3 separate regions of the Homo sapiens genome follow, and regions 2 and 3 are each linked to region 1. Evidence: promoter capture Hi-C in human tissues and cell types (Jung and others, 2019). All regions are on one chromosome and are shown on one strand. Each heading gives the region's core, a stretch centred on a gene start or on the middle of the fragment in contact. The rest is flanking DNA. Distances are from core to core; before and after follow the strand shown. Region 1 holds the start of CNNM1 (cyclin and CBS domain divalent metal cation transport mediator 1). Region 2 overlaps CNNM1 (cyclin and CBS domain divalent metal cation transport mediator 1). Region 3 overlaps CNNM1 (cyclin and CBS domain divalent metal cation transport mediator 1).

Region 1 (3,296 bases), core at 511-3,010:
GAAAATAGCCAGGGAGCCAAGAGGTAGAGTCTTCCTTGGGTTTTTAGTACCATAGGAGAGAAATTGCTTTGGGTACCTAGAGCCTCACGTGGTTAGGAAAGGATAATACCTTTGAAGGGGATAGGAGTTGGGGGAGAAGATAGACTACTGCTCACCCTTCTTAAACTCCTCCAGAACCGTGTCCAGTCGGGTGTCATTGAAAACACAATGCAGGGGCCGGTTGTAGAAGCGGGTGACAGTGAGGAGCGGGGTGCAGTCGTCGGGGTCCACGAAGGCCAAGTCCTTGACAAATAAAATGTCCACAATGTTGTGCCGCTGGTCACCCTCGTACACTGGGATGCGAGTGTAGCCGCTGCGCAGGATCTCGGAGACAGTGGCGAAGTCGAGCACCGCGTCTGAGCGCAGCATGAAGCAGTCTCCCAGGGGGGTCAGCACCTCCTCCACAACTTTGGTGCGCAGCTCCAGGGCACCCTGTATGATGTTGAGCTCCTCCTTCACCAGGTCACTGTAGGGGTCTGCGGCCCGCAACGTCTCCAGCAACTTCTCCCGCGTGTAGAAGGTGCTTATCTCCTGGCGCAGCGCCCAGTCCAGCAGGCGGCCCAGCGGGTAGCACACGGGGAAGGCGGCTGCCATCAGAAGCCGGGTCAGGCACACGCTGTGCGAGGCGATGGCCAGCCCGTGCCGCGAACACACTGAGTAGGGGCAGATTTCGGCGCCCAGGAATACCGCGCCGGTGCACACGAGCGCCGGCAGCCACGGGAAGTGGATCCCCTCTTCGCTGTAGTCTTCCCCGGTGCCCCCGAAGCCCGGCGGCAGCGAGGTGTACAGCCAGCCAGCCAGGGCCGCGTTGGCTCCGGCTTGGCCCAGGAGTAGGGTGCAGAGCAGATGGGTCCCCCTGCCGCGAACGGCCTGCACGCGGCGCGCCTGCTCCTGCTCGGCGGCCGAGCCGCTGTTCCGCAGCACCCGTAACTCCACCGGGTCCAGCGACAGCAGGCTCAGGCGCAGGCCGCTGAACAGGGCCGACAAGGCTAGCAGCAGGAGCGCCCCGAGCGCCCGCAGCCACGCAGGGGGCAGCAGGTCCCCGCCTGGGCCGTACAACCGCGGGCGAACGCGCAGCAGGAAGCCGCCGGCGGCGCCGTGGTGGTGCCACGCGCGCCCATCCCAGGCGCAGAGTGAAAAGAGCTTCCCGCCACCGCCCGCGCCGCCCCGCTCCGCTTCGCCCTTGCGCAGCTCCCGCACTCGCACCTGGACCAGGGCCGAGCCTGCCACGCCCCCGGGACGCAAGGGCCCCAGGACTTCCACGTCCGATGCCCAGTCGCTCTGCTCCCTGCAGCGCTGCGGTCCCGGGGGGCGAGTGGGGACCGCGCTGGGGGCCACGCCGCCACCGCCCGGGGGCTCCTCGATGAACACGAGCCGCGGAGCCCAGTCGCCGGTGCCATTCTCCCCCGAGTTGAGGGTCGGTGAGGGCACCGGTGCGGCGGTGGCCGGCGGTCCTGGCTGGAAATAGACACGCAGGAGGAAGCTGGTGCCTTCGGCGGCGCGCAGGGTGCCCCCCTCCAGGGACACGCGGCCTCCAGCAGTGTCCTCGGGCCGCAGGCCCAGCAGCCAGGCGGCGGCGGCCGGGGGCCGAGGAGACAGGGAAAAGAAGAGCAGGAGCACAGCGCCTCGGCTGCAGCAGTCCCGGAGCCTGACACCCACCGCTGCTGCCGCCGCCGCGGCCGCCGCCATCCTGCACCCAGCGCAGCTGCACGTGATACTGCAGGAAGCCGAGCGAGAGCTGGAGGGAGGAGGAGCCGGAGCTGGGAACCCAGCCGCAGGCAGGTCACCACGTGTACGCCCACTGCGCGCGTGGGCTGGTGGCGGTGGGCATTCAGACTCCACCTGGGCAGGAGGTCCCCGCTGGAGGCTGGAGGTGGCCAGGCATCACCGCACTGTGCGTAGCGGGTACACACTTCGGTATATCTGAGATGCAGCCTGAAAAGTCTGGGTTTGCAGCATGGCCTCCTACTCCAAAAGTAAGGTGCTCCTCTGCGAACTCCTACCCGGCAGTAATTCCCTGCCGGCTCCACTGCTTCCCCATTGGCCCGGGAAATTTCCCAGCTTTTCGCTTCTCCTGCCACTTGCATTCCCCCTTCTGGTCAAAAGAATATTCTGGAGTCAAGTCTTGAATATGTGAAAACTTTTAGCCTCAACTCCAGCCGACCTTTCATTATTGTAAACATTTCTGGATTATTTAAGTTCAATTCTTAGTTAAGATCCGAATGTCCATCAATAAGAAACTGTTGAAATAAGTGAAACCACTGTGCAATGGAATACTATGCGGCAATAAAAAATAATGCGGTGGATCTGTTGTATATGTGATACGGAAAAAAATCTCCAAAGTAATTGTAGAAACAAAGTAAGGTGCAGAACAGCAAGTATAATATGCTACCATTTGTGTTAAAAGTATTTATGTATAAATTTGTACACACACACACACTTATATGAGATTTATTTATTTATTTATTTATTTTGAGATGGAGTCTTGCTCTGTCGCCCAGGGTGGAGTGCAGTGGCACAATTTTGGCTCACTGCAACCTCCACCTCCCGGGTTCAAGCGATTCTCCTACCTCAGCCTCCTGAGTAGCTGGGATTACAGGCGTGCGCCACCGCGCCCAGCTAATTTTTATATTTTTAGTAGAGATGGGGTCTCACCATGTTGGCCAAGCTGGTCTCGAATCCCTGACTTCAAATGATCCATCTGCCTCGGCCTCCCAGGGTGCTGGGATTACAGGCGTGAGCCACCGCGACCCGCCGTTTACATCTTTTAATTAATTTATTTATTTTGAGACGGAGTTTCGCTCTTGTCACCCAGGCTGACGTGCAATGGCGCGATCTCGGCTGACTGCAACCTCCGCTTTCCAGGTTCAAGCGATTCTCCTACCTCAGCCTCCTGAGTAGCTGGGATTACAGGCGCCCGCCATCACGCCCGGCTAATTTTTTTTTTTTTTTTTTTTGGTAGAGACGGGGTTTCACCACGTTGGCCAGGCTGGTCTCGAACTCCTGACCTCAGGTGATCCGCCTGCCTCGGCCTCGCAAAGTGCTGGGATTACAGGCATGAGCCACCGTGCCTGGCGGGTTACATCTTAATTATAGTACAATATCAAAAGCAGGAAGTTGATATTGGTGTAATGTGTGTATATAGTTCTCTATCATTTTATCACATGTATGGATGTATGTGACCATCACTGCACTCAAAATACAGATCTATTATCACCAAGATCTGGGAGGGAGACTTTCTTATTAAATTCCTTATA
Region 2 (3,446 bases), core at 81-2,580, 41 kb before region 1:
CCAAAATGGATGAGGAAGCTTAATTACATAGACCTGTAAGAGTACCAACTAGAATTATTAAAATTCATTATACTGGGGCAATATTTAGCATCAGACAACCGAACACCAAAGCCAGCTGTCTGTCAAAACTACGATGTGAACTCTAAGCCCAAGTTAGGATCCCAGATGAACTCATTCACTTTACACGGAGCTTTAATGGTTCCCAAATGTTCATCACACAAGAGCCAACCCGAAGGAATATTTCCACTTACCACATTTTGCAAAGTAGAAATATTATTTTTAGAGATTCCCTGTATATTCAAGCAGAAAACTGTCATTATTGATCTCAGTGCACATTATGAATAGATAACCGAGCACTGAAAAAGAACCGTTGGTTCCAAAGTCTCTGTCTCTGTGCTTTTGTGGATTTGAAAGGACTGTTATGGGGAATTCAAAATTATCTCCACCACCAGGAGAAGAAAGAAGGAGTGAATATGGGGAAAGGGAATGCTAATTGCAGTGGGGCTGTGTACTTTCAGGGGAAACCCCTGATCAGAAGTTTCATTTTTAAATGAAAGCACCTGCCAAGTTGGTTAACCACACCACAACCTGGAGGTAATCTGTGAACCACTGTGTTCTTATTTCAAACTAAGGCTCAAATAGAAAGAGACTCCCTATGGATAATGATGGCAATATTTGGTGCAGAGACCCCTAGCCTCAATCTAGTGCGAGCACCAGATTCGTAATTAGCACTGCTTTCAAAATGCAAATAAATCACAGCCCTCTAGGGGGCATAAAATGTCTATATTCAGAGGTACAGCAAGGTCCCAGGCAGTAGGTGGAGAGCAGGATCTAAGACTTAGATTCCAGTCCTTGTCCCTCTGCCTACCTAATACACATACAACACTGACTGACTTTCTCAGAACCTGTTTTTTAATCTGTTGTTTTTCAATGACTATTCCTGCCTATCTCCCAAAGTGATTGTGGGGAGTCAAATCAGACAATGACAATTCTTTCTTAGACTTCAAGACCCTACTAATCTCTAGGATTTATTTTCCTCCCATATAAGATACGGTTGAGATTTAGCATATATGTAAATTAATGTATCTGGATCAGAAATCAATATTTCCACTTAGCACATTTTGCAAAGTAAAAAAAATTTTTAGGTACTTTGGTATATTCTAGGAGAAAATGGCATCATTGTTGATCTCAATGCACACTATGAATGGACGATCGAGCACTGAATAAGAGCCCTTGGTTCCAAAGTCTGTGCTTACAGGGCCAGAAGTTACCTGGAACTTCTTTCTACAAAAATCCCAGACCTCTGAGGCTACTTCTTTTAATGATTTGGAACAAAAGCAAGAGTGACAGAGGAAATACCACAGAATAGGTCCTGTGGATGTCAGCTGATCACTGGGAAGGCACAGTGATTAGCTCTAGATAGAGACCAGACACAAGGTGGAGAGGAATAAGCCAAAGGAGAAACTAGGCATTCCCTACCTCTGGTTTTCTCCCACTGTACCCACCATTGCTCCACCCTGCAGAGTTAAACCAAGGGTGGGAATAAGCTTACCTCTTTATGGGTAGGGTTTCCATTGTGTTGACACTAATCTCCTGTTGTGTTGAATATCCACAGTCATGGAAAAGGGGGGAAAGTTGAAAATACTCTCAGGGGCACATGACACCACCCAGAGTTGGATCAGAAGTCTCAGCACTTCCTGGGGGTTCTGCACAGCAGGAGGGAATCACTTTCATCTCTGTCTGACATTGGGTTATCATGGACTTTATAATAATCAATACAGATGAACTAGAATTAACCTTCCTTTAACTGGGAAGTTACAATTAACTAGGTCATCTGGTTAACTGAAGGTTAATTAAAAAGGAAAACACATCCTCGCTTTGATCTTTTGGGCTGAAAGTCTTTTAAAATGTGCATCTCCCCTTTCCTCTGAACCTTCACAGCACACTCTTGGCATTCACCAAGATTCACTGCATGTGAAGGAACTTGAAGGTCCATCAAGTGGTCATTTCTAATTTTGCGGGCATGTAGGAGTAGACCATTTAGCTGGTGAGGGCACCAGATTGGCATTTCACATTGACTGTCCGATCCTGTAGTCATTATGAAGGCATGAGCTCTCACAAAGCAAGAAAAACTATTTCTTAGTGGAAAATCACCATCGAGAGAGAGAGAGAAAACTTTGGTGAAATTTGAGAAGGTGGTTAACTTATCTTGTATAGATCAACATGAGGACCAGATGGTTTTTGATGAAAAAAAGTGATTTTGGGAAAAAACAGAAGTCAACATAAATACTTCTGAGGTTGCAAATTGGAGGGTTTGAAGTCTCAAAACATGACCTTTTTTAAATGTTGAGGGTCTACTATATAGACAGAGAAACATAAGCGATTTCTCGATGACTGAGGATATGGTGGGGTCTTAGTATCATTACCCCAGCAACGTGATAAGGGATACAGATTTAGAGGGTAGAGGAAATTGGACTGTGTTCTAACTGCAGGGCAATTTAACAAATACATTCCTGGTTTAGTCATTACTTGCTCTATGAGCCCAAGAGAACAACCACTGGAGATGAAAACAAACGGTTGATCATTCAGATTTGTGGCATTCTACTCAGTCATTGAATCATTGTCTAGCTCTATGAGGAATTGTTACCCGATTAAAAAGAAACCCAGTGACTATTTCATTTATCAACAAAAGAGGTTAAACCTAATGAAAAGTTGTTTTGAAAGTTTTACATATAGCATCCTTTGTACGAGCAGAGCTAGTGAGCATATGATCATCACATAGTAACATTATTAGGAAGATGAGGACATGGAAGGAAAGAAAGGTAGAAAGAAAATAGGTAGAAATAAAGCACAGTATTCCACTATTCCTACTTCATTCATGCTGTACTCCTCATCCCTCCATTCTGTAGTCAGACAAATGAGGAAAAACTCACACTATCCCTCACCCCCACCATTTTTCCATGTGCATACACAGATACATTCCTGGGAGGTAAACTCACAAATGACACCACTGAACCAGCAATGCCTGGGTGGTATGTGCAAATGAGTGCTATTTGTGCAAAGTGCTATGCCTTAGTCACAGGAGTGCCTGTTGGAGTGATTAGTTCTCATGCAGGAAAGTGACAGAGGCCAAAGGCTTCTTGCAAACCCCTCTGGATCTACAGAGACCCGAGACACCCATGCATGTTTACCTGGGGAGCCTGCCAGAGAGTCCCCTCTGCTGACAGCGAAGGTACGAGACACAGAGACAGGCACTAAAGAGTCAGGGGCCAAGGATTTGTGAGTTGCGAAAGGGAAGATATAAACACAAAAGGAAAGAGACAAAGAACAAAGTGGGTGAGACAGTCTGTTCCTGGATCTTCACAACATCACATTTCTCTGCAAAAAGGAATCTTGACTCTGAAAACACAGGAATCACATCCTCTTACAAAGTCACACTCCAGAAA
Region 3 (3,219 bases), core at 523-3,022, 63 kb before region 1:
GCCTCAGGCCAGGCCAGGCAAGGGGTGTGGTGAAGTCAATAATCATTGCTGGAAAAGGCTTCTCTAGCTCCAAAGTCTTTACTTCCACACGCTGTGGCCCTCCTGTCTGCAACACCTGCTCTGGGTTGTTGGGGAAGAGGGGACAAAGTTATGTGGGGGTGTTGGTTGTACAATACTCTAGGGTGTGCCGAGAATTTCTGAGGACTTCCACTTCTTGGTGGGTGCCAGCCTTCCCCATCAATTGATGGACATTTGAAAAGACCACTTATGATTAAAAACCTGTCTCGAACTGCCCAGTATCCACTTCACTCTGCATTGCAGAAACGCTGGGCTGAAAGTTCCACTATTTAAAATAGTAGTGTTTTTTTTTGTTTGTCTGTTTGTTTTAACTCTTTGTAGGTCTGAGACCTTTGAGAACCTTATGAAAGCTTTAATGCTCTGGAAAAAACATACAAGAATAAATACATTAAATACTGACAGTTTTAGGGGTTTCATAGACCCTCTGAAGTCCAACTATGGACCCCCTGGGGTGATGGACCCCAAGTTAAGAACCCCTGAGTTAACAGTTCCTGTGGGTAAGCATTTTCTTTTGAGATGCAGATAACCCAGAGGAATGATCAGTCTCCCTCCTGCCTGTGAATGACTCAATGGGTGTGGGGAGGTGGGAGGGAGGGTTTTGGAGGAAGGGGAGGGAAGCTGGATGGTATACTACGGGGAAAGGTTTGGGAATGGTTTGGAGATTTAGCAGACAGCACTCGATCAATGAGTTCAGTGAGTACTTGACTGAGAACATCTAAAGAGTAGGAGACAGATCAGAAAGGGAGATAGTTATTCTGAAGACAAATTTCACTTACTTCCAAGTTTTCCCTAAGGCTGGCTGTGGTTGCTTTTCTTTTCTTTTCTCTTTCTTTCTTTCTTTTTTTTTTTTGCGGGGGGAGACAGAGTCTCGCTCTGTTGCCTAGGATGAAGTGCAGTGGTGTGATCTCAGCTCACTGCAACCTCTGCCTCCCAGGTTCAAGCGATTCTCCTGCCTCAGCCTCCCGAGTAGCTGGGACTACATGCCCAGGAGAGATGGGGTTTCACCATGTTGGCCAGGCTGGTCTCAAACTCCTGACTTCAAGTGATCCACCCGCCTCGGTCTTCCAAACTGTTGGGATTACAGGTGTGAGCCACCGCGCCCGGCTTTGCGGTTGCTTTTCAGAACTGTTTTATTCTTGGAAGCAGGTATGCGCGGTCACTCTGCCATCTGGTGGTTATGCTTGGAATTGCACCTGCCCCAACTTCAGGAGAAAAACCAGAGATCCAGTAAGTTCTTGGAATAAAGTACACTCAGCTGATCTGCTAGGGTGTAGTAAGGGGGTGGGAGAAGGACAAATGCATGAAAAAGAAGAATGATTCTTCAACATTCCTGTGTAACTCCCACTGAAGTCCCATGAGATTATGTATCTTTCTTGGCTGACCTGGGCACTCTTTGGTTTGTCATGGCTAAACTTGCTTTCAGCACTTACAGTTTTTCCATGTAAGTTTTGTTTGTTTTTTGCTTTGATTTGCACTTAAGACCTGAAGTTCCATCTCTGGCTCCCAGTTGGGTCTCTCTGCTCCCTGTTCCTTCTCTTCCAGAGCAGAATTATTGATCGATTGAAGACTGCTGATTGGGAGCCAAAACAGATGTGTCCCTGGTAAAAACAGTGACTTGAGGTTCCATCTCACATTCTTTCCATTCCAGCTGAGACATACTGCCCCAGGCTGCTGGAACCCTTATCTAACAGGAAACCAGTCACTAACAGTTTTCTGTGCTGTAATGTCAATCACGCGCCAACATGGCTGAGTCCCACTTCTTTAAAGCTCTGGGGGAAATTCTTGGTCCATCCCCTGAACTAATCTTCAGACCTCCTACTCCAGCCTCCCATGTGCCTGTCTGCCAATGGCACCTTCTGAGCCAAGCTATGCATGAAATGTGTTAGAAAGTTAACATTTTGTTCTGGAGGAAAGAATGGCAAGTTCCAAGACGATAGGTCTCCTATGGCATCAGGGGACCCAAAGAACAAAGAAGAGCATCAGGGGTCCCAGAGTGGCATTGTCAGCTTGCAGTCAGACATCTCTTTTCCAGTCCCAGACTATGCTGTGGAAAAGACCATTTCTAGCATGTTCTATCAGAGGCACCTCCTTCTGTTATGGCCATGTCAAGGTTCTGAGTCGAACTGGAGGTAACGAGGGAAAATCTGCCAAACTGACAGCTAGGGGTGAAGAGATGGAAGGGAAGGCAGAACATTCTGTCACCTGTGGGAGGCCTTGGGGGAAGCAGATGATGGGAGGGTGGATTCTCCCCCAAAGCTCTGGAATTTCACACACCCAGTGAATGCTGGCTTTGCCCTGTCATGTGATCAGAGGTGTTAAATTGGAGTTGTCCTCAGAGGTTCTCTCTCCTTCTGGTGACCTCTTCCTTTTTTGGCCACCTGAAAAAAACAAGTTGCAAGTATCAGCCTGTAACACTGGAGGAACATTCATAATTGCTTGGCAGTCTGAGTTCTTTTCAAAACAGAAGCAGAAATGGAGACAAAGCCCTTGACAGCTTGGTTAGAACTAACCGGCATTGTATGCTGGTGCTGATATTGGCATATTTACATCTTGAAAGATTAGGACGTACTTTCCACATAAGATGCCATCTCTGAAAAGTCACAAACCCAGGCTGGTGCCTGGAATTGAGACTTCCTGGAGGGGACTGAGTAAAGCCCATGTAACACCTCAGGCCCATGCCTCCTGCGCCCCTTGGGGGCCAGCCCCTCTGACTGCCAGACACCCTCAGAGAGGACCAATCTCATAGACTTTGATGTCCCATGAATCAGGGTTGGTGGCTGTAGCTGCAAGCCATTTCCAGGGACCTGCGTTCTCTAGCTCTGAAGCAACCTCCCTTCTGCAGTGGGGCAGGTGGGCATAATTACATAGTTGTCCTCAAGGATGAGAGAGCAATCTGTTCCCAGGTCTGTTTTTAGGAAGGAATATCTTCACCTTGTTCTCTCCACCATTGACTTCCATCTGTGGAGGAGATTGCTCTCTTTCTATTGAGTCTCCTGGACACCAATTCTTTAAAGGACTAGACAGAAAATATTAGAGGCCTGTGGGCCATATGGTCTCTGTCACAATTACTCGACTCTGACATTGTTGCCATAGATAACAAATGGATCTGTCTGTGATCCAATAAGTCCTTACTTACAAAAA

The links. Contacts are between HindIII fragments. The study calls those that stand out against the background at their distance.
Region 2: a fragment that was not itself captured here is called in contact with the fragment with the promoter of CNNM1 in region 1 in 1 of the 25 tissues and cell types used here (H1 embryonic stem cells).
Region 3: a fragment that was not itself captured here is called in contact with the fragment with the promoter of CNNM1 in region 1 in 1 of the 25 tissues and cell types used here (thymus).

The regions. Positions count from the first base shown.
Region 1 is chr10:99,327,820-99,331,115 of GRCh38, reverse strand. It overlaps CNNM1 (cyclin and CBS domain divalent metal cation transport mediator 1), which reads right to left and starts at 1,760. Exons shown (of 11, transcript NM_020348.3): 1 at 156-1,760. The coding sequence starts at 1,728. The HindIII fragment of the contact is 11,915 bases long and covers 1-3,296 here.
Region 2 is chr10:99,368,426-99,371,871 of GRCh38, reverse strand. The region is part of intron 6 of CNNM1 (cyclin and CBS domain divalent metal cation transport mediator 1); the gene reads right to left. Among named protein-coding and RNA genes, the nearest start is that of CNNM1, 41 kb to the right of the region's middle. The HindIII fragment of the contact is 3,893 bases long and covers 1-3,276 here.
Region 3 is chr10:99,390,674-99,393,892 of GRCh38, reverse strand. It overlaps CNNM1 (cyclin and CBS domain divalent metal cation transport mediator 1), which reads right to left. Exons shown (of 11, transcript NM_020348.3): 11 at 1-2,456. The coding sequence ends at 2,377. Among named protein-coding and RNA genes, the nearest start is that of GOT1, 38 kb to the left of the region's middle. The HindIII fragment of the contact is 6,285 bases long and covers 1-3,219 here.